4 separate regions of the Homo sapiens genome follow, and regions 1, 2 and 4 are each linked to region 3. The links are contacts of gene promoters, found by promoter capture Hi-C in human tissues and cell types (Jung and others, 2019). All regions are on one chromosome and are shown on one strand. Each heading gives the region's core, a stretch centred on a gene start or on the middle of the fragment in contact. The rest is flanking DNA. Distances are from core to core; before and after follow the strand shown.

The links. Contacts are between HindIII fragments. The study calls those that stand out against the background at their distance.
Region 1: a contact is called between a fragment that was not itself captured here and the fragment with the promoter of OTOF in region 3, in 2 of the 25 tissues and cell types used here (bladder and pancreas).
Region 2: a fragment that was not itself captured here is called in contact with the fragment with the promoter of OTOF in region 3 in 1 of the 25 tissues and cell types used here (neural progenitor cells).
Region 4: a contact is called between a fragment that was not itself captured here and the fragment with the promoter of OTOF in region 3, in 2 of the 25 tissues and cell types used here (bladder and pancreas).

What each region holds. Positions count from the first base shown.
Region 1 is chr2:26,620,425-26,626,139 of GRCh38, reverse strand. All of the region lies in intron 3 of CIB4 (calcium and integrin binding family member 4), which reads left to right. Among named protein-coding and RNA genes, the nearest start is that of CIB4, 18 kb to the left of the region's middle. The HindIII fragment of the contact is 7,786 bases long and covers 314-5,715 here.
Region 2 is chr2:26,519,541-26,525,290 of GRCh38, reverse strand. The region is part of intron 3 of OTOF (otoferlin); the gene reads left to right. Among named protein-coding and RNA genes, the nearest start is that of OTOF, 36 kb to the left of the region's middle. RefSeq lists a silencer at 3,831-3,996. The HindIII fragment of the contact is 6,873 bases long and covers 1,006-5,750 here.
Region 3 is chr2:26,556,438-26,561,631 of GRCh38, reverse strand. It overlaps OTOF (otoferlin), which reads left to right and starts at 2,876. Exons shown (of 47, transcript NM_194248.3): 1 at 2,876-3,139. The coding sequence starts at 3,061. RefSeq lists enhancers at 1,929-2,721, 2,722-3,515. The HindIII fragment of the contact is 11,571 bases long and covers 1-5,194 here.
Region 4 is chr2:26,588,983-26,593,913 of GRCh38, reverse strand. The region is part of intron 4 of CIB4 (calcium and integrin binding family member 4); the gene reads left to right. Among named protein-coding and RNA genes, the nearest start is that of CIMIP2C, 29 kb to the right of the region's middle. RefSeq lists enhancers at 1,579-2,322, 2,323-3,067. The HindIII fragment of the contact is 4,031 bases long and covers 1-4,009 here.

The DNA of each region.
Region 1 (5,715 bases), core at 2,957-5,456, 63 kb before region 3:
AGGCTACAGTAACCAAAACAGCATGGTAAAGGTACACAAACAGACATGTAGACCAATGGAACAGAATAAAGAACCCAGAAATAAGGCCACACACCTACAACCATCTGATCTTTGACACACAACAAAAATGAGCAATGGGGAAAGAATTCCCTATTCAATAAATGATGCTGGGAGAACTGGCTAGCCATATGCAGAAAATGTGAAACCAGATGCCTTCCTTATACCTTATACAAAAATTAACTCAAGATAGATTAAAGATTTAAATGTAAAACCCCAAACCATAAAAACCCTAGAAGAAAATGTAGTCAATGCCGTTTAGGGCATATGCATGGGCAGAGATTTCATGATGAAATTGCCAAAAGCAATTGCAACAAAAGCAAAAATTGACAAATGGGATCTAATTAAACTAAAGAGCTTCTGCACAGCAAACAAAACTGTCTGTGCAAGTCCGGGTGGGAAGCAGTGGGGGGGTGGAGCCTGTTTTCCACAGGTGGGCACAGTGGCTCACGCCTGTAATCCCAGCACTTTGGGAGGCCGAAGCGGGTGGATCACCTGAGGTTGGGAGTTCGAGACCAGCCTGATTAACATGGAAAAACCCCGTCTCTACTAAAAATACAAAATTAGCCGGGCATGGTGGCACATGCCTGTAATCCCAGCTATCTGGGAGGCGGAGGCAGGAGAATCGCTTGAACCCAGAAGGCAGAGGTTGTGGTGAGCTGAGATTGCGCCATTGCACTCCAGCCTGGGCAACAAGGGCGAAACTCCATCTCAAAAAAAAAAAAAAAAAAAAGGCTGTCCTTAGGAAAGGCCTCGCTCTAGGTGGTCCCAGACATAGGTCCAGGTACAAGCACATGCAGGTTTCTCCACAATACAAGTAAACACTCCCTAACTGCCAGCGCTATGCACAGAGGGAATGCGCTTTCTGTCACTGACGGGTGTTCTAGCATCCTTCGGTCTCAAAAAGAGATTGGACCGATGATCTGGTGCCCTCCTCACTCTCTGAGTCTGTGGTTCTGGCCCTAGGACTTGGTCTTACTCTCTTTTGTGGTGTGCCATCTACCACAGTATGTCCCAGACTTACAAAAAAATTTGTGGGTACATAGTAGGTGTATATATTTATGGGGTACATGAGATGTTGTGATGCAATGCGAAATAAGCACATCGTGGAGAATGGGGCATCCATCCCCTCAAGCATTTATCCTTTGAGTTACAAATAATCCAATTACCCTCTAAGTTATTTCCAAATATACAATTATTATTGACTATAATGCCTATATAAAAAAAATATATATATATATACACCATAATACCTTGTTGTGCTATCCAATAGTAGGTCTTATTCATTTTTTCTATTTTTTTTGTGTGTACCCATTAACCATCCCTGCCTGCCCCGCCCCCCACCCTCCCACTAAACTTCCCAGCCTGGTCCCAGACTTTTTATTCAAAAACAAAATCTTTTTTTGAGGCAGGACTAGAGATGCCAACTTTCAGTTTTGCCAAGTAAGGACATTAAAAAAAATATGTCATCCACTGTCAGTGACCATCATTTTATTTTAAAGAAATATTAATTTTAAAACAAAAATGTAAGAAGCCTCGAGTGTTTTCAGACACACCCCCTTTTGTCCGTATTGTTCTCCGTTTGTCACCTGTTGTCAAGAACTTTGTCACTGGCTCATCCCTAGTGCTCAGACCAGCTTTTGGAGACCTAGAGCGAGGACTAAAGATTCCTTCTGTGTCTTTCCGATTCTGGACAAAGCAGAAGCCTTGCTTCCCAAAATGAGCAAGGAGAGGCTTGCTGGGAGGTGGGGGCCCGGCTGTGCCTGCATCCTCTGTGGCCGCAAGGACGGGAGCTGCGTGACTCACACTGCCCAGAACACGTCTCTGGAATAGGCTTTGAGAACTGGGCCCCAGGGAGCTCTGGGTACTGATATAACTTGGCTCAGGGGCTTGAGTGGTCTGGGAAGAAAGCTTTGTTTTCTTAACTTGGGTTCACTCGTGGAAAAAGCGGGCTTGGGAATATTGGGAAGGGTCTGCCTATCAGTGGAGAACAAGGCGAGAGAACATCCTGGGTAGCAGGAAAAGCCTGCTGACCAAAATGTCCCGCACGGGGACAGGACACAGTGCCCCCTTTCCACTCAGCAGTTTCTGTTTTCTTTTTGTCTGATGGATTTGGTGTATTTAAAAGTGTATTAGCTCAATGTTTCTGTTCTTGTAAATAATTATCTTGCTTTCTGTAAACACAGATGAGTGTGGCATGGTGTGACTTGGGTTTCTAGTTTCCGAGCCCAGAGCTGTAGTTGCATCCACTGGGGATGGCTGGAAACAGGGCCTAAAGGAAGATCGCAGGGCCTTGGAGCAGGTAGGGTGGAGGCCTGCACACTGGCGGGGCCACCTCACCCCCCTGGCCTCTTCCCTCCTCCTGCTCCGGGCTTCCTGCTGGCAGATGGTCTTCGCATAGACCCGCCCCTGCTACATTTTATTCCATCTGTTACAGAGCAGAGAGGTTTGGAAACCTGCCCAAGGTGTAGGGAGGTATGGTCAGGATGGCCCCTAAGGTTTCAGCTCCATCTCGGTTTCTATGTATCTCCCAAAGTTTTCCGAGCCTTTCTGAGTCCTGCTTAGAACTAGTTCCTATCTGCTTAGAACAGCTTGCAAAGAACTCACTCCCAAGGCTGAAAGCGATGAAAAGTCCTGAAATTTACTCAGCCTTTCAAGAAATCCTAAAAGTAGGTGGGGTGGGAATGGTAGTGTATTTTTAAAAATTTAATATTTATTTTATTATTTATTTATTTATTTTGAGACAGGGTCTCACTCTGTTGCCCAGGTTAGCGTGCAGTGGTGTGAACACGGCTCCCTGCAGCCTCAATCTCTGGGGCTAAAGCGATCCTCCTGCCTCAGCCTCCCGAGTAGCTGGAACCACAGGCATGTACCACCACACCCAGCTAATTTTTGTGTTTTTCATAGAGATGGAGTCTTGTCATGTTGTCTGGTTGGTCTTGAATGCCTGGGTTTAAGCAATTCTCCTGCCTCAGCCTCCCAAAGTGCTGGGATTAGAGGCATGAACCACCATACCTAGCCTTAATTTTTATTCTAATTAAAAAAAATTTTTTTTAGTTTTTATCATTTATTTATTTATTTATTCTTATTTATTTTTTTTGAGATGGAGTCTCACTCTGTTGCCCATGTTGGAGTGCAGAAGCACCATCTCAGCTCACTGCAACCTCTGCCTCCCAGGTTCAAGCAATTCTTCTGCCCCAGCCTTCTGAGTAGCTGGGATTACAGGCGCGTGCCGCCATGCCTGGCTAATTTTTGTATTTTTAGTAGAGATAGGGTTTCTCCATGTTGGCCAGGTTGGTCTTGAACTCCTGACCTCAAGTGATCTGCCCACCTCGGCCTCCCAAAATGCTGGGATTACAGGTGTGAGCCACCTCACCTGGCCTTTTTTTTAAGTTTTTAAATCAAAATTATTCATGTGTGCCAGGAGTTAAGTTGCCCTATGAGGGTTGCCACATTTCCTCTTCTCAAAGGCAACTATTTTCAGCTCTTGGCTGATTCTTTCCTTATTTGCCTCCATGTCTTTAAAGAGCACCTTGTATTACCCCTTCTTGATAGTTCAGCCTTTGACTTCCCCTAAGAAGAGCTAAAGCTCTTCCCCTCCCCAACACCCATCCTATTCCTCACTCCTTGTTCCCCTGCCCTCCCAATATAGTTACATGATAGTTTGGGGGAGATCAATAGTCAATGTTTTGTATTATTATTATTTATTATTATTATTTTTTGAGATGGAGTCTTGCTTTGTCGCCCAGGCTGGAGTACAGTGATGCGATCTCGGCTCACTGCAACCTCTGTCTCTTGGGTTCAAGCAATTCTCCTACCTCAGCCTCCCAAGTAGCTGGGATTACAGGTGCCCGCCACCATGCCCAGCTAATTTTTGCATTTTTAGCAGAGACAGGGTTTCACCATGTAGGCCAGGCTGGTCTCGAACTCCTGACCTCAGGCGATCCACCCGCCTCGGCCTCCCAAAATGCTGGGATTACAGGCGTGAGCCACCATGCCTGGCCTCAATGTTTTGTATTATTATGACTGCATACACTGTTCAGAGCTGAGTCATGAAATAAGCTGTAGTTACTTTCCCTTTCTGTGTAGTTTTGTTTATTTTTCCTGGATGTCATCATTGTTTTTGCTTAGTTGTCTATGTACTTTTCATTGAAATGACACCAAACCTCTGCCAATCTTCTAAGTCTTCTCCAAAGGCATTTAGAAGTGAGAAGTTTCCTGTACATTTCCTTTTCCTAGCAAAATTTCTCTTGGAGCCTTCTAACATTCTCTAACCAGGACTGGGTTGCCCTCTGAGCCTGGTATATGTTACCACCTTGGGATCTCCTTTCATGACCATCTCAGATTCTTCTCACCACTCTCTTGGGTCTTGCATTTTCTGTTTTCATGTCTCTCCATTTACTCCCCTTCTTTTGGTGGAGCACATCCTCTGGTAGCTTTCTGATAAAGGCTGCATGGAGATAAATGTTTTTACAACTTACATATCTGAAAATGTCTTTTTCTCCTCTCATACTTGACTGATAATTTACCTATTTATTTATTTTTTGTAGAGATAGGGTCCCACTATGTTGCCTAGGCTGGTCTTGATCTCCTGGGCTTAAGTAATTCTCCTGCCTCAGCCTCCCAAAGTGCTGGGATAACATGTGCATGCCACTGAAACTGGCCTTTGACTGAGAGTTTAGATGGAATTGTAGGTTGGATATCATTTTTCTTTAGAATTTGGAAAGCATCACTTAATTGCATTTTAGCTTTCACCGTTGTTATTGAGAGGTCCAAAGCCTTTCTGTTTCCTGATCTTTTTTCATTCCCTGTTTTTTTTTTTTTTTTTTTCCTGGAAACTTGTAGACTCTTCTCTTTTATTTTACTACTCTGATATTCCCAACAATAATTGTTGGCACGAGTCCTTTCCCCTGTGTGTGAGGCACGCGGAGGACCCACTCAGTCTGGAAACTCATGTCCTTCAGCTCTGGGGCCTTTCCTTTAATTATTTCATTGATAACTTTCTCCCTTCTGTTTTCTTTGTCCTTTCTTTCTGGAACTTTAATATTCTGATGCTGTACATCCTAGATTGGTCCTTTATTCTCTGTCTTTTCTCTCCTACTTTTCATCTTTGCCTTTTTGCTCTTCTTTCTGGAAGATTTCCTCCACTTTATCTTCAACTCTAATAGGGTTTTTCACTTCTGCCATCATGCGTTTAGTTTCCAAGAGCTCATTTTTGTTCTCTGATCTTTCTCGTTTTTGTAGCGTCCTCTCCTTTTTCCTTTAAGGTGCTTTTCTCACTTGTTTGTTTGGGTCCTTGGCTTGCGCGTCAGAAGCCTTCCTCAGATATCTGGTCATCAAGGGCTCATGATGATGACTGAAGGGTGGTTGCTAAAAAGCTGTTTTAAAGCTGAAGTCCCTAGGTGGGATTTATCAACTGGGAGCTTCACTGAAGGGCGATCTGAGGGGTCATTTTGAGGATTCTCTAGAAAAATGGAGAGTAAAATTCTGCCTGCTAGCATCCTAGAGCCATGTTAGGAAAGAGGGCTGGTGAGGTCTCAGAGTTCAGCACCTGTATGTTTATTCACTCCCCAGTTCTCAACCATGTCTGACGTCCCCCGTGGAGAAAGCCTCTGCTATACTCTCCCCAGAGAACAAACTCCCGTCTTTTGCAGGGGC
Region 2 (5,750 bases), core at 3,193-5,692, 38 kb after region 3:
TTCTGTGGGTTTTATTAGGAGCTTTCAAAATCTCAGCTGAGTATGGGGCAAGGGCATTTCAGAAATGCTGTCAGGGCCACAGGGAGGATGTTTAGTGCACAAAGGCCTTCCCTTTGCCTCTCATGGCATCACACCATTCAGGCAGCTGCTTTTGGCACCCACAAGCAAGGTTGGTGAGACACCCCCCACCAGGGGCCCCCAAGGTGAAGCAGAGCCTTCTTCCCTGGGGTGAGATACCATGAGGGTGTGACCTATGAGGACAGGAGAAACAGGAACAAGTGGAAGGCTCACACACAGACCAAGTGGGTGTGAAAAAGGAAGGAGAATCGGAAGTCAAGCACCAGGGAGGGCACCTGAGAGCCCCTGAAGGAACCCAACCATAGGTGCCAAAGCATCCAGGAGCTTTACAGCTCAGCCACTACAGCCCTAGCTGTGCAGGAGGGGAAACCAAGTCTCAGAGGGGAACCTGAGGTCACATGGGTAGACAATGGTAGAGCCAGGGCTAGAATGCATGTCTGTTAACTTCTCTTCCTAATCCAACTCCCAGAAACCAAAATATTTGAGCAGTGATGGTGGAAACTGAGGGCATGGAAGACATTGTTAAATCATTTATAATGAAAGCCACCAGCCTAACCACTGAAATGCTGGAAACACTTGAGCCCATCAAAAGACTGCTACAAACAAATCAGAAGTATTTGGGAAATCGGGAAATTGACTCCCATGCAGTGAATATGTTGAAAGTTACAGCTTCTATTAGGTGTTTTTGGTTTTTGTTTTGTTCAGAGACAGAATCTCACTCTGTCACCCAGGCTGGAGTGCAGTGGCCTAGTCTCGGCTCATTGCAACCTCTGCCTCCTGAGTTCAAGTGATTCTCATGTCTTGGCCTCCCGAGTAGCTGGGACTACAGGTGCATGCCACCAGGCCTGGATAATTTTTGTATTTTTAGTAGAGACAGGGTTTTCCCCATGTTGGCCAGGATGGTCTCGAACTCCTGGCTTCAGGTAATAGACCTGCCTCAGCTTCCCAAAGTGCTGGGATTACAGGTGCCAGCCACCAAATCCAGCCTGTATTAGATGTTCTTAAGTGCCAATAAGAAGGAAGACAGAAAGGGGAATAGTTCCTATCCTAACTCTCCTCTTCTTCCCTCCCTGCCCCCATCCAAGAGAAGGCAGGAAACCCCACAAGGGGAGGCCCAGGCCTGGTGGGAGAGGTTCTGGCATTTCTTTGGAAGCCTAGAGAATGCCCAGGGCACTGCTGGCTGCAGAGCTGAGATGGGAAAGAAGAGGTCCCCTTGTGGAGAGCACAGGCCCAGGCTGACACAGGCCAGCTTGTGGGGGTCAGAGTGGGAGAGAGGTGTTTGGAATGATGTGAGACTCAAGTCTCCCCATCCTGGCATTTGCCTGGGCCAGGCCAGAGGAGCAATGAGGCCACTGCCCTCAACCCCCACATGGCCCAGTTCAGACCCCAGGCTCCTTCTCATGGGGCAGCTGAGTGGAAGGGGTCTTTGGGGTCTGCACTAGGCTTAGCAATGAGCAAAGCCATGGCCACTGCTGGGGACAGTGCCTGGCACATGGCAGGCTCCTGATTATTTTGTGGAATAAAAGAATGAATAAATGCCCCTGTGGTGTTAGGAGGCAGAGGGTAGGTATACAAGGTGGGAGAGCCTTTGAGAGGGAATCGGAGTGGCCCCTCTTCTCTGAAGGACTCAGGGCACTCAAGGGTGACACTCAGCATCACATGACCGATGCATTTGGGGAAATTGAGCTAAAAGAGGCATGGAGGAGCTGCCTGGGAGAGTGGGTCCCAGGACGAGAAATGAGCCTGATCCCATCACTGCCATCTCAGAGAGAGAGACTTGTCCTAGAAGCAGAGAGTAGCTTGGAAACTGGCCCCTCACCCAGTGGTTCTAGAGGCTGCCAGGAGGCAGAGACATGGTATGAAGGAAGGAGGCATCCTAGGCAGAAACCAGGAGACCTCCAGGTCTGCTTGGCCCCGTTTGGAACAAAGACCTGTGTCCAGGAACCTTGGGCTTCCCCATGAGAAAGAAATGTTCGGTTCAGAAGATTTTGTGCATCCAGCTCTGCCTGTCCGGGACCTCTGAGGGTCCATGGCCTGGCCTCCAGCCTCCTGCCTGCTAAGGATGCCAGGGACCCTGAATAATTCAGGAGCCAGGACAGCAGGAGAGGCCTCGCAGGGCCCAGGACACCTGACACGGGCTCCCAGGGGAAAGTGATGAATTATTGACAGGATTCTGGTGCCCAGTTGCCGCTCTATTGTGATCAGTCTGTGGGCCCATCTGGGCTGGAGGCCTTTTCCTGCCGGCTAATTACGTGGGGATCTTAGCTCTGCCCAGCCGCCCAGCCCCTCGTGGGGCCAGACAGCCTCCTGTGAGGGGTGTCCTCTTTGCCATGGTGACCTGGATGGCCCTGTAAGGCAAGTAGTCAGAGGACATGGAGTTAGCCCCAGATCCTTTGCCTGACAGCCCCAGGGAAACTGAGGCCCAGAGAGGCCTCTTGTCCAGGGTCACACAGCAGGTTCAGGACAGTCAGGTCTTCACCCCAGGCCTCCTGACACCCGGGCCAGTGCTCCTTCCCACAGAACACATGGCCTCACAACTCCATTTCTAGGGAAATGACTCAGCTGTCTAAGGAGCATATGAGCCCACCCTTCCTCAATCGTCCTGGGCCCCACTCTCCCAGGCAGCTCCTCCATGCTGACCCATGCAGAGGAGTAAGAACCTACTATGTGTGCAGCCAGGATGCACAAAGGCCAGCTGCGGCGGGCAGGGTCGCCTCTGGGGTCACCACAAGGGCCAGAGCCAGGGGCTTCTCCTACCTCTTCCTGTCCCAGCTTCTTCCCAAAGAATATCTATAGAAGACGGGCTGAGGGATGGCATCCTAGAAGCAGTGCCAGGGCCTTTGTTTTGAAACTGTTTTCATGGCAAGCACTGTGTTTTTGCTTAAATGGTATGTTACAGACCTGTAGAAAGAGTCAAGGTTTATAAAACTGCTTTTCTTTATACTTTACATAAGGCTGAGATAATATCAATTGTCCATGTCAAAAAATATAATTTTTACTTTTATTTGAGAGAGGTTGGGGGGTGAACTGTTAGGAGTTAAAACCCCCCAAGCCACTCTTGGAGGTGTGGCAAATTGATTCCTTTAATCTTGCAAGCTCCTAGCGTCCCAGTCCCACCCTCCAGGCCATAGACAAGCTCTGGCTGTGCGAGGCTGTGCACAGCTTGAAGGGTGGGGGACTGCCTGGACCTGCCCCTGAAGCCCATCCTGCAAAGGAGACTCGCCCTGTGTAGGCTCTCCAGATGGCCAGCCCTGCTCATTATTAGGGAGGGAGGAGGGGCTGGCATCCGAGTGCCGGTGTTGGTAGAGGAATTTCACATGAGCAGTCTCCTCACCACTGTCCGGTGGAAGTCGGAGGGCTATAGCAGAAGGAGCCAAAACCACACTGCTGCCAGGAGGTGGAATCTCCCTTGGGTCCTGCTGAGTGAGCCCACATCTGTCTGACTCCAGAGCCCAGGCTCCTCACTGTCTACACCGCTTCCCTTTAGGGATGGAATTAATCTGCATGTGGACAGGGCTTGGACCAGGGTAGGAAGAGTAGGGGATTTGCCTGGAGGCCAATCTTGCTCAGCACACTGTGTGATTAAGGCAGTGGCTGAATGGACTACCAGTGACAGCCCCATCACTGTCACCACCACCGGAGTATCTAGCAGGGACTTAAAAGCACATGTCAGGGAGGTTGTTTCAGGGATTCCTCCTGGAAGGGGCGCTGGACAAGGTCTCTCAGGTTCTTCCCAAGTATAAGATCTGAGATTCAGGCAGGTTAAGCCTAGAAGGCACCAGACGCCTCTGTGAGCACTTGCAGGGGGAATAGCTCCACCCTGCCCCCTGGGAGTGTCTTGTCACATTGCAGCACCTCTGCGGATCCTGGGGAGCTGCCTTGGCTGTTCTTAGGCATCTAATTCTGGAGAAAGATGTGCCTGATCGCCCCACGCTCAACAGGTGCTCGACAGGTCCTAGGGGAATCAAGGCAGCTGAATAGCCATCCACAAAGGGTAATAGTAGAGCAGGGATTCTCAAAGTGTCTCCCCAGCCAGCAGCTTCAGCATCACCTGGAAACTTGTCAGAAATACACATTCTCAGGCCCTCTCCCACCCACTGAATCAGAGCCCTGGGGTCGGGGCCAGTGGTGTGAACTGAAGTCCGGTGGACCCAGTTTGGTGACTTCACATTAGAAGCTTGAAGTTGGCCATGGCGGGAGTATTTATATCTCAGAAACCAGCAAATGCTACAGATGAGCACCTCTCCTCTCCCACCAGTGACACATTTTCCAGCATATCCACAGAAGAGGATATCCCAGCCGTGCATGTTTTCACAAGCCCTCCAGGTGATTCTGCTCATGCTGAAGTTTGAGAACCACTGATTTAGAACAAAAAGGGGTGAGGCTGCAAAAAGATGAGTGTATTTTTTCGTGCCCGTGGTCTACTGTTAGAATGTCTACATGGTACGGAAGCTAAAAGTCCCCTTCCCTCTTCATTTTATAAAGACCAAATTGAGACTCAGGGGCAGCAGCTCCAGGGCTCCTGGCCCCCAGCCCAGCACTTCTGTCTCTGGGGCACTGCCTGAGCTGGGAGAGGTGCATGCAGCTATGGAAGAAGGCTTCCATGGGCTGCTCTAAGGGCCCAGAAGCCCAGTTCGGCTTTAGAGTGAAGGAGTGGCGTGGTCAGTTTCATCCTCAGGGAGGTGGGGCACAATGGTGGTTGGGGCTCTGAGCTCCAAAGGGGAGCATTTCATATCCATTCCTCATGGCTGCCCCTACCACTTCCTCCCCTCACACAGATGGGAAGATTTTTAAAAAATCAATGTTCACCCTCCACAGACCTCAGGGTGGTAGAGACATGAAGCATGTCTGAGTCAGAATTCATCTGATACCTCACCTCACCCAGATCTACCATTAATTAGCTGTGTCCCTTCCCCTTCCATGGCCTCACTGTCTTCCTCTATAAATCTCAGGCAGCATCAGATGATGCCCAAGGTCCCTTCCAGCTCTCACACGCCCTGGATGCTTCCCTCCCCTTTGTGCCTTCAGCTAGAAATGGTGTGTGTATTCTAATCCACTCTATGTGGAAGCACCATGTAAGAACGTCTGTCTGAGTTCCCTGTTCTCTCCCAGAGCAACAAACAGCCTTCTGACTGTGGGGTGCAATGGGGTTGAAGTCAACTCCATCAGCATTTATTGGGCACCCACTGTTGTTCATTAATTCAGCCAGCAGATATTGAGATCTCTAGTGTGCTAGAAATGTCAAACAGAGGCTAGAATAAAAAGCACCACCCATGCCCTTGAGAGGTTCACAGTTTAGAGGCAGTACATGAATCACGACAAAACGGACTGCTTTGGAGTGCTGGCTGTGTGCTGGGGGCTTTGACAAGAACACTCGCAGATGATCTCATTCAGTCCTCCAACAACAACTCTGTGAAGTAGGGCTTATCAGCTCATCTTATGAGAAAACCGACACTGAGAGAGCTTAAGGAAGTTGCCCAGGAAGCAGGTAGCTTGCTAGTCAGTGTCAGAGCTGGGTTCAGATCCCTGTCTCTTTGATGCCAGGACTGTGCTGTTAACCAAAGCATTGCACCGCCTCTCCCCTGCTGTGCAGTTCCATGGGCTCTGCCATCACACAGGTTCCTGCCATCCAGGAACTTACAGGCTGCAGATGTGGAATGGATGAGTGAGTG
Region 3 (5,194 bases), core at 1,627-4,126:
GCTTCCACGGTGCCAGGCTCTTGGTGACTCGGGTGGAGGCCCTGCCACCCCAGCTCCCTCTGCAGCAGTCCTGGTGTCATGAAGAAGCCTGGCAGTTCCCACTTTGTCTCCAGGTCTTGCTTCTTCCCTTCAGATGCCGGATGGAGAGCAGTGCTCCCCTCGCACTTCGGTTCTGTAAATGGCAGTGGATGAAGACCGCAGACGCTACTGGGTTCACAGAATGTGGCTGCCACCAGCATTCTCCAAAGACTTCCCCTGGCAAATGCCAATGAAATGAAGGGGAGCCACAGGCTTCCCAGAGGCTCAGGAAGCAGAAACACTGAGGCCTGGTTGGAAAGAGAGCTGTAGGCAAAGGAACGGCTGCAAACAAACTGGGTGGAAGGAAAATCCATCCATCCTTCAGAATGCAGTCATGTCTGTATTTTTCTAAATTCTCATTGGGGAACATGTTCTACAATAAGGAAAACATGAGTCAAAGACCCCCAGCCCTGGTGAGGTTGACCGCCTACTTCCTCCCCCATTCAGGGCTGCCCAGCCAGTCCTGCTGGTAAACCCACCACCCTGCCTTCCACCTGCCTGTGTTCTAGTCCATCTGTCTCGTCTGATTGGGATCCTGTGCCATCCATATCATATTCATCCCTGAATCTCAGCACCTGGCTCTGGAAAGAATTCAGTAAATGTTCATTACATAAATTATATACTCAGTTACCAAAATGGGTAACAGAAGAATGGAAATTAAAAAGTGGGTTCTGGCTGGGAACGGTGGCTCATGCCTGTAATCCCAGCATTTTGGAAGGCCGAGGCAGGCGGATCACTTGAGGTCAGCAGTTTGAGACCAGCCTAGCCAACATGGTGAAACCCCATCTCTACTAAAAATACAAACATTAGCTGGGCATGGTAGCACATGCTTATAGTCTGACCTATTTGGGAGGCTGAGGCAGGAGAATCGCTTGAACCCGGGAGGCAGAGGTTGCAGTGAGCCTAGATCACTCCACTGCCCTCCAGCCTGGGTGACAGAGTGAGACTCTCTCTCAAAAAAAAAAAAAAAAAAAGAGTGGGATCTGTCTCTTAGGTTTTCAGAAAGGCCAGCTGACTCCATTGAGAGCTGCTGAGTGGAATTGCTACCATTTTATGGATGTGGAAAGTGAGATTCAGCATAGATCAATGCCTTGGCTAGGGCAGGATCATGGGCTTTTTCCTAAAGATGCACAGGGTCTATAAGAGGCCTCATGAAATTCACTCCTTTCAGGGGAGGACCTCCAGAGAACCAAGGAAGAAGATATTTTCTGTTGTTGTTGTTGTACCTTGTAGTCACCAAGCCTTAAAAACACAGATCACCTGATGACCTCATGGATGGAAAATGCTAGTGAATTTAGGTGTTTTTTTTTTTAAGACATTAAACTTATCTAGCTTTTGAAAATTTAGCATTCATACTTGTATTCAATAAACAGAATACTCTAAGACATTTTTAAATTCAATATGATTAGATAAATGTGAGAAAGGTAAGCAAGAATTGGTTAGGAAAAAGTGCAAAGGAAAAAAACGTAAGTAGAAAAAGAAAAATAGGGCACAGTAGCAAGGAAATATCTAGAAGGAGGAAAGAAGGCTCTTGGGACATACTGTAGGTTATTTGGAATGCAGAATTCAAAAGAAGTAACCTCTTGTTACCATGCTGTGAAAAATTAGTATTTCTCTTTTTAACCTTTAGACTCTGTTTCAGGTAGATCCCTGAGCTCACTCTTTTATCCTTTCAACAGTAATTGGGCATCCTACGGTGCACAGGATACCATGTGGGGCTCTGGGGTAGAGGGATGCTGTGCTCCAGGGCCCTCCTGAGGTCAGGAGGGGAAAAGGCAAGGGAAGCAGCCCCAGGACTCAGTAAGATGAGAGGAGGCAGGAGCAGCACAGAGGAGGACCCCAACCCAGCTGGGGTGCGGGTACAGAGGCACCTCCAGGAGCAGGCACTCAAGCTGAGTCCAGGGTGGGGTGGAGGGCATTCCACCAAGAATGAATAGCAAGAACAAGGCTGCAGATGACCCTGCACAGATTCCAGCATCAGGGATTCTGGCCCCCAGCGTCCCTTTCCTTGGTGTATGCTGCTGGAAGACAGGAGGGGGCAGTTCTCTTTTGGTCCTTAGAAATTTCCCTATAGACATCCCTTCTCCTGCCCCTAGCAGCTTATAACAGCAGAAGGCCATTCAATTCTGCTCCTCTGGCTGGAAAGCAAACATCAGCCTGGCTTACCTTCGCTAGCCTGCCTGACCCCCAGCCTTGGGGTGGGGCTAGGTTAGTGCCCTGGATCCTTAAACATGGCCCCTGGTAGCACATAAGCCTCTGCTGCCTCCACAACCAGCCATCTCCATCATGCATGGCCTGGTCCTGAGCCTCCCCTCAGGCAGCAGCCCCAGCCTCTCTGCTTCCTGAGATTCAGAAACAGGGATCCCAGGGCAGGGCTCAGGGCCCAGCCTCTTGGGGGCACAGTCTCCAGCAGGGAAGAGGTGGGCGTAGGTGGACAAATACATTCCCTTCTTCTTGTAGTGTGCCCCTGTGGGTGGGAGTGCCCCCCGCCCCACATCCACCCTACCTATGCTCATGCCCACTCCTCTGTGCCCACTACTGGTGGCAGGGCTTGCTTAGCAGGGAAGCAGCAGAGCCCTGCAGAGGGGTGGGCAGAGCCTCCCTTCCAGGAGCTGGGAGAAGACACCTGAAGCTGGACAGAGCTTTATCTGGGAGCCGGCGGCTGCTGAATAATGAATTCCAACTCTGCCGCACTCCCAGGCTGCACATTGGGTGCACACACACACACACACACACGCACACACCGATACACACACGCTGGGCTGACAACTTGGAGGGGCGGGGGCTGTGAGGCTCTGTGAGTCGCTGCAGGAGCAGCTTAGCTCGGCTTGGTTGCCTTGGTCTCTGTGGGCAGCATCGGAGGGGGGTCGGGAGGAGGAGGAGGAGGCAGCGGCAGAGAAGAGAGAGGCGTGTGAGCCGTGCTCCACCGGCTAGCTCCTTCCCGCTGCTCCTGCCTGGCAGTGCCAGGCAGCCCACACCAGCATGGCCTTGCTCATCCACCTCAAGACAGTCTCGGAGCTGCGGGGCAGGGGCGACCGGATCGCCAAAGTGACTTTCCGAGGTAGGGAAGCCGCTGTCTCAGAGGGACGCCAGCTCTGAGAGCTGGACCAGCCCATGCTCTGGAGGTGGCCGGGGATAGGACAGGGCTGGGAGGATGGGTGGGAAAAGTTCTAGCAGGGGCTGGGGCGACGAGCCTTTTCACAGGTAGTCATCTGCCTGGGACTGACTGGCCATTGTGATTTCTGGAAAATCAGGGTCCCCTGTTCTTCCATGCCTGTGTCTCCTTGTGCTTGCCAACATGCCAGTTCCCCGGGCAGGGCACAGAGCCCTCTGCCTGGGGAGGCAGAAGTGAGGACCACATCCCTGAGCTCAGGGAGACCCAGGACCCCCTCCTTCTCTCTCTCTCCCTCTCCTGCAGGTTGATTTCCTTGAGCACAGGGTGGGGGCCGGGTATGGAGCCTGGGGCACCCAGGGTGACTGGGAGAAACCAGGCAGCCAGTAGCTCCCTGGGCCCCAGAGTGATGGGGGACACTGTTGGCTTCTTTTAGATCTATTCATGGGCGGGAACCCCGGGAGCCCCTCGCCTCTCTTCTGTCTGGTCTTTTCTCATCCTTTTCACTCCTGTATTCAGCGACCATTTATTATGATCTACTGTGTCCCAAGGATAGGGGTAGAAACACAGAGCTGAGCACAACCCAGCCCCAGCCCCAAGGAGCCTGCATCTGTTGGGCAGGCGTGGAACAAGCAGGACAGGTATGTGAGACAGAAGGTGGGGGTGCAGCATGCAAGCTACAGAAGCAGCACCCTCACCCAGGCTGGTGACCGGTGGTCAGGGAAGGCTTCCCGGAGGAAGTAACACTCAGCTAATACCCGAAGGACCAGCGGGTGGGAGCTAGGAGAGGAGGTAAGGACTGAGGAGGCAGAGGAAACAGTGTGCCCAGAGCTGAGAGAGGAGCTGAAACTCTGGAACTGAAAGAGGTTCCATGTGTCTACAGCTCAGAGAGGGTGCAGGAGCGGAGGCCAGAGAGCCAAGCAGGGCAAGGAGGCGAGGCTGGACCTGACCCCGGGGACAGCGGAGCCCCTGAGCATTTTAAGTGGGGAAAGGCAGGGCCAGGCTGACTCTGTCCTTCACCACCCACCTCTGCCTCTCCATGTGGTTGCTGCCCAGCCCTGAGGGTTGGGGGTACTTCTCACTAGACATGGCCCCTTCTCCCGAGAGAGGGGTCTGAGAGTGGGATGGGGACGAGGTGGTGAGAAGGGGGCAGAGAGGACCCCCCTATACTAAAGAGCAAAGTGAGCCTTGGGGCCCAGGCTGGACACAGTGTCTGCACCTCTGTTGGAAGGGATGGGAGAGACCATTGGCAGAACATTCCAGCAAGAGCCCTGGGGCACCCACATCACCTACCCAGAGGCCCTGGGATGCCCACATTGCAGCTTGTGTTCATAGGGACAGGCAGGGGTGGAGGTGATGGCAGTGGCCCTGCCGGCAGGCGGAGGTTAGGCAGGAGGGAGAGGGAGGTGTGGGCTGGGCTGCCTTTTGCCTCCCACCCCAACCCACTGACTGCTTTCTCTGCAGCACCCTGGATCTCCCTCTGTGTGCCACCTGCAGGCTCATGCTGGCTTTAGAAAAAGCAAATGTGTCCTTTCATCTGTGAAATGTGGCCCTGAGCTCCACGGGCAGCATAGTGTGGGGCGGTTAAGCTACAGGTTGCCATCCTGCTGCAGCTGTGCTGGAACGGTCCAGGCTGCACCGGACAGGCCCACTTGCAGGCCGAGAAACCAAGGTTCAGGGGTAGAACACTGCGCGTGGCATTCACGGAGGAGCTGAGGCACGGTGGTCCCAGCTCTCAGGACCTCATCCTGAGTACTCAATCTTGCAAGCTCTTTATCTGCTCCTGGGCCACCTGGGGGCCAGCACCTTGTCTGACACCCATCTTCTCCTTGGAGCAGTGAAGGGCTGGGCCTTTAGCCTCACTGACCACACAGGAATTAGTTTATTTGCAACCCTTGCTCTCTGGACTGAGTGGAGAAATCGCTTCCAAGCTCCACATTGGCAGGAGGTGGCCATGGGCAGAGCTCCTGGGGAAGGGGGCTGGGCAGCAGGAATAGGCAGATG
Region 4 (4,931 bases), core at 745-3,244, 33 kb before region 3:
AAAGGGAGTCCAAATGTTGTGTGTAAACTACGCCCATATCTCTTTCTGACCTCTACACCACATACACGAGGGCAAACTCAAAGCAGCTCAGCTAAGGATAAAAGAACTAAACTGAGATTTGAGCTGCCACCACATTTTAACCAGATCCATGAGTGACAGGGTTTGCACTTTGAGTCGAAATCAATTGCCTGCTAAAACCAAAAATTCAGCAATCTTTGGAGAAATACAGAGTGTCTACAACAAAACATTTATAATATCCAAGAAGCTATTCAAAATTGTACACAATGTACAAAAATTTGTTTTCATTGATGAATTCTCAAGAATGGAGACTGACTGACATGACCTAGATGTTGGAATTAGCTAATAAAGATTTAAAATTAGCTATTATAACTGTATTAGTCAGGATTCTGCAGAGAAACAGAACCAATAGGCTATTTATATGTGTATATGTATGTGAGTGTATGTGTGGGTATATATAGTGTGTATATATATGTGTGTGTATATATGTGTGTGTATATATGTGTGTGTGTATATGTGTGCGTGTGTATATATGTATATGTATATATGTATATATACACACACACACATATACACACACACACACACATATCTCTACATATATATCTAGAAAGAGAGAGAGATTTATTCTAGGAACTGGCTCATGTGATTATGGAGGCTGAGGAGTCCCATCATCTGCTGTCTGCAAGCTGGAAAGCTAGGAAAGGCGGTAGCATAATTCATTCTGAAAGTCCAAGAACCAGGAGCATCAATGTCTGTGGATGGGAGAAGACGGATGTCTCAGCTCAGAGAGTACAAATTCATCCTTCCCCCACCTTTTTGTTCGTTGGACCCTCCATGGATGGAACAATGTCTAATTGGTGAGGACAGATCATCTTTACTCAGCCTATTGATTCAAATGCCAGTCTCTTCCGGAAACACCCTGACAGAGACACCCAGAAAGAATCTGTTGCCAGCTATCCGGGCAACCTTAGCTCAGTCAAATTGACACGTACCATTAATCATCACAATAATCATGCCCAAGGATGTAAAAACTGCTCATAACAAATGAAAAGATAGGAAATCTCAGCAAAGAAGTAGAAACTATAAGAAAGAATCAAATGGAAAATATAGAACTGAAAAATAAAATATCTGAAACAAAAATGCACTGGATGAGCTTAACGAGAGAATTGAGATAACAGAAGAGTCAGGAAACTTGAAGACAGAACAATAGAAATAACTTAATCTGAAGAACAGAGAGAAAAATTATTCAAGGGAAAGGGGAACAGAGCCTCAGAGACGTGCAGGACAATAGAAAGCTCTAACATGTATCTAGGTGGAGTCTGACAAGGAGAGGAGAGAGTGACCGGTGCAGAAAAGATATTTGAAGACATAATGGCCCCAAATGTCCTACATTTGATGTAAGACACAGATTTACAGTGAACTCCAAGCAGGGTATGTAGAAATTAAATCACATACCCAAATTCTGTTGGCTTCATGGGCCCCACCTGTCCACACCAGCGTTCCCCCTTCCTTACCACAAGTATTTCTGGGAGTTTCCATGGGGATCCCAATGCATCCAGGGAGTTGGAGCCCTCTAGCCGCTGCTCCTCTCGGCCAGGCCTCCCACAGGTGGCAGCCGTGCTGGCTCAAGCCCCCATCAGTGCTCTCTGGCTGGGGTCGCTCCTCTGGGAAGATGCCAGCCCAGGCTTGCTGTTTCTGTCTTAGCCAAGAGTCTTTCGGTTGCAAACCACAGAAACTTACCTATGTAAATGCCACTGATAAGAACCAGCACTAGATGAGTTTTCCATTGTGTAAGAAATTACCACAAGCTTAGAGGCTTTAGATTACATACATTAGTAACCTCACAGTTTCTGTGGGTTAGGAGTCCAGGCATCACTTAGTTGGGTCCTCCTCTTAGGGTTTTGCAAGCTGCCATCAAGGTTCTGGCCGGGGTGCCTTCTCACCTGGAGGGCGCTTGACTGGGGGAATCTGCTCATGAGCTTGCCCACGTTGTTGGCAGAATTTACTTCCTTGTGTCTGCAGGACTTAGGGCCTTGACTTCTTGCCGGCTCTCAGCCGGAGGCTGCCCTCAGCTCCTGGACACATGGGCCTCTCAACCTGGCCACTTGCTTCTTTAAAGACAGCCAGGGGGAGAGACTCTTGAGTCACCCCACTGGCAAGATGGAGTCATAAAAGACAGCGTGATGGTGGAGGTGACAGCCCATCACTTTTGCCAAGTTCCATTGGTTACAAGCAAGTCACAGTTCCCACCCACACTCAAGGGGGTTGGGGATTATACGAAAGCCTGAGCACCAAGATGTGTGGCTCTTAGGAGAGAGGTCACTAGAGTTCGTCTGCCAAGAGCACTATGGAGCCCATGGTGGAAGTGAGGCAGGACTCCTGGGGCCCTAGGGCACAGCTGGATGAGAGTCAGGAAGCCAGGCAGCTGCAGTCTCCTCTCCATGGCTGCCTCGTCTCTCATCTCTGCCTCTCTCTGTGGGCTTTCCTTCTCCTTCTGCAGATCTGCTATGCCTCTGTGCCCACAGGCCAAAGATGACTCCCCGGCCCCCACATGGCCTGTAGGCTTCACTCTGAGTAGCCACAAGCATCTCTGTTTCTCCCTTCTGTTTTCTCACCCAGCCAGTGATCTAGCTTCCCCTGGGATAGGTGACCAGCCTTGCCCAATCACCTGCAGCCAAAAAGAAGCAGAGTTGTGAAACAAGCATGGCTCCAGAGGCCTGCCACTGGGGTGGGGACACTTCTCAGAGACGGTAGAGCGTAGGCTGGGCAGAGGCCACAAAAGACGTCTGCCTCCGCTGACTTTCCATGGTTTCCTGAGCTAAACAAACAAAAACACTCAAACCCTTCAGGAGCGAGGTGAGCAGAAGGTTCTCCTTGGGCTTCAAGGCACAAGCTAAATCGTGTTCAGCTGCGACATGGGGAGAACACCCACTGTCCCCAGAGGTCAGACTGAGAGCCTCAGGGTAGATCAAGGACTAGACACCACAATATCCCCCACAATGTCTTTGTATCTTTCTCCCCACTCTCTCTCCAGGCCCCTTGCAGCACAGAGGTTCCTTCCTCCAGCCTCAGCACAAACACAAAAAGTTCAAAGCCTTCATGCAAATCAGCTGTGCAAATAGATGCTCAGGGGCTCATAAATGCCCAGGCTTCATCAGATAGACTCAGACAACCCTGAATTCTCTCTGGGCTCGGAAGGTTTCTTTACAGAGCTGTCAGCAAGATTAGAGATGGGACACGTGGATCCTGAGCCTGCGTAGTAAGTCGAGGGGGGAGTGGTCCACAGTGAAGGATGAAGAAGGATCAAAAAAGAGGGGAAAGGAGACAGAAAGGGAAAGGAGAAGGCGGGCATGGTAACTGTCATGGTGATGATTCCGTCCAAAGACGGAACTCAGTGCTCCGGCCCCTTGCTACCCCCGGTGTGGCCCACAGAGCAGCAGTATCAGCACTGCCAGGAAGCTTATCAGAAATGCAGAGCCCCAGGCCCTACTCCACCCACTGGATCTGAATCTGCATTTTAGCAAGATTCCTCTGTGCTTTAACGTCTAAGAAGCATTGATCTAACCCACTGCTTCTCACACTTGGCTGTACATTGAATCACCTGTGAGTTTTTTTTTTTTTTTTTTTTTTTTTTACAGATGCTTGGGCCCCAGCTCCAGGGACCTGATGGAATGGTATTGGGTATGTCCTGGTCCCTGGGCTTTTTGGAAGCTCCCTGGATGGCTCGAATGAGCAGCAGACTGTGAGAACTGTTGCTCTAAACTGCTGCAGGAGCTAGGGTTGCATTCAGTGATGTGGAGCAGTGGCCATGGTATTACAAAAAAGAAAAAACAAAGTCTGGAGTCAGGCAGTCCAGAGTTGGGGCAATGGCTTCAGGAGGTTACTGAGGGCCCAGGCTCCTTCAAGCTTCCTGTTCTGCCAACAGTCGGGGACCATTATCCTCATAGTCACAACATGGCTTCTGTGCCCAAAGACATCTCATCTTCATTTCAGGAAGAAAAGGTGATAGGAGAAGGGATCAGGACAAAAGTACGTCCAAAGTGCAGCTAAGTCCACTCTCCTTTCACAAGCTTTCTTGGAAGCCCCACCCGGCATTTTTGGTTTATATTTCATTGGCTAGAACTATGTCACCTGGCTACCCATAGCTGCAAAGGAGACTTAAAACATCCAGCTACACATTTTAAGCTGGACATGGTGTCATCCTGAAAAGAAACTGCAGTTATGTTAGTAAGAAAGACAGGAGAATGGCTTTTGGTCAAGAATCCAGCAGGGGCTGGGTGCAGTGGCTCACACCTGTAATCCCAGCACTTTGAGAGGCTGAGGTGGGTGGATCACCTGAGGTCAGGAGTTTGAGACCAGCCTGGCCAACATGGTGAAACCCCGTCTCTACTAAAAATACAAAAACTAGCTAGGCATGGTGGCAGGCACCTGTAGTCCCAGCTACTCAGGAGGCTGAGGCAAGAGAATCACTTGAACTTGTCAGGCAGAGGTTGCAGTGAGCTGAGATTGTGCTACTGCACTCCAGCCTGGGGAAGAAGAGTGAGACTCTGTCTCAAAAATAGAAGAAGAAGGAGAAGGAGGAGAAGGAGAAGGAGAGGAGGAGGAGGAGGAAAGAAGGAGGAGGAGGAAGGAGAATAGGAGGAAGGAGAAGTAGAAGAAGAGGGGGAGGAGGAGGAAGAAGAAGAGGAAGGGGAAGGGGAGGAAGAGGAAGAGGAAGAAGGAGAAGGAGAAGGGGAAGGGGAAGGGGAAGGAGAAGAAGAAGAAGAAGAAGAAGAAGAAGAAGAGGAAGAAGAAGAAGAAGAAGAAGAAGAAGAAGAAGAGGAAGAGGAAGAGGAAGAAGAAGAAGAAGAAGAAGAAGAAGAAGAAGAAGAAGAAGAAGAAGAAGAAGAAGAAGAAGAAGAAGAAGAAGA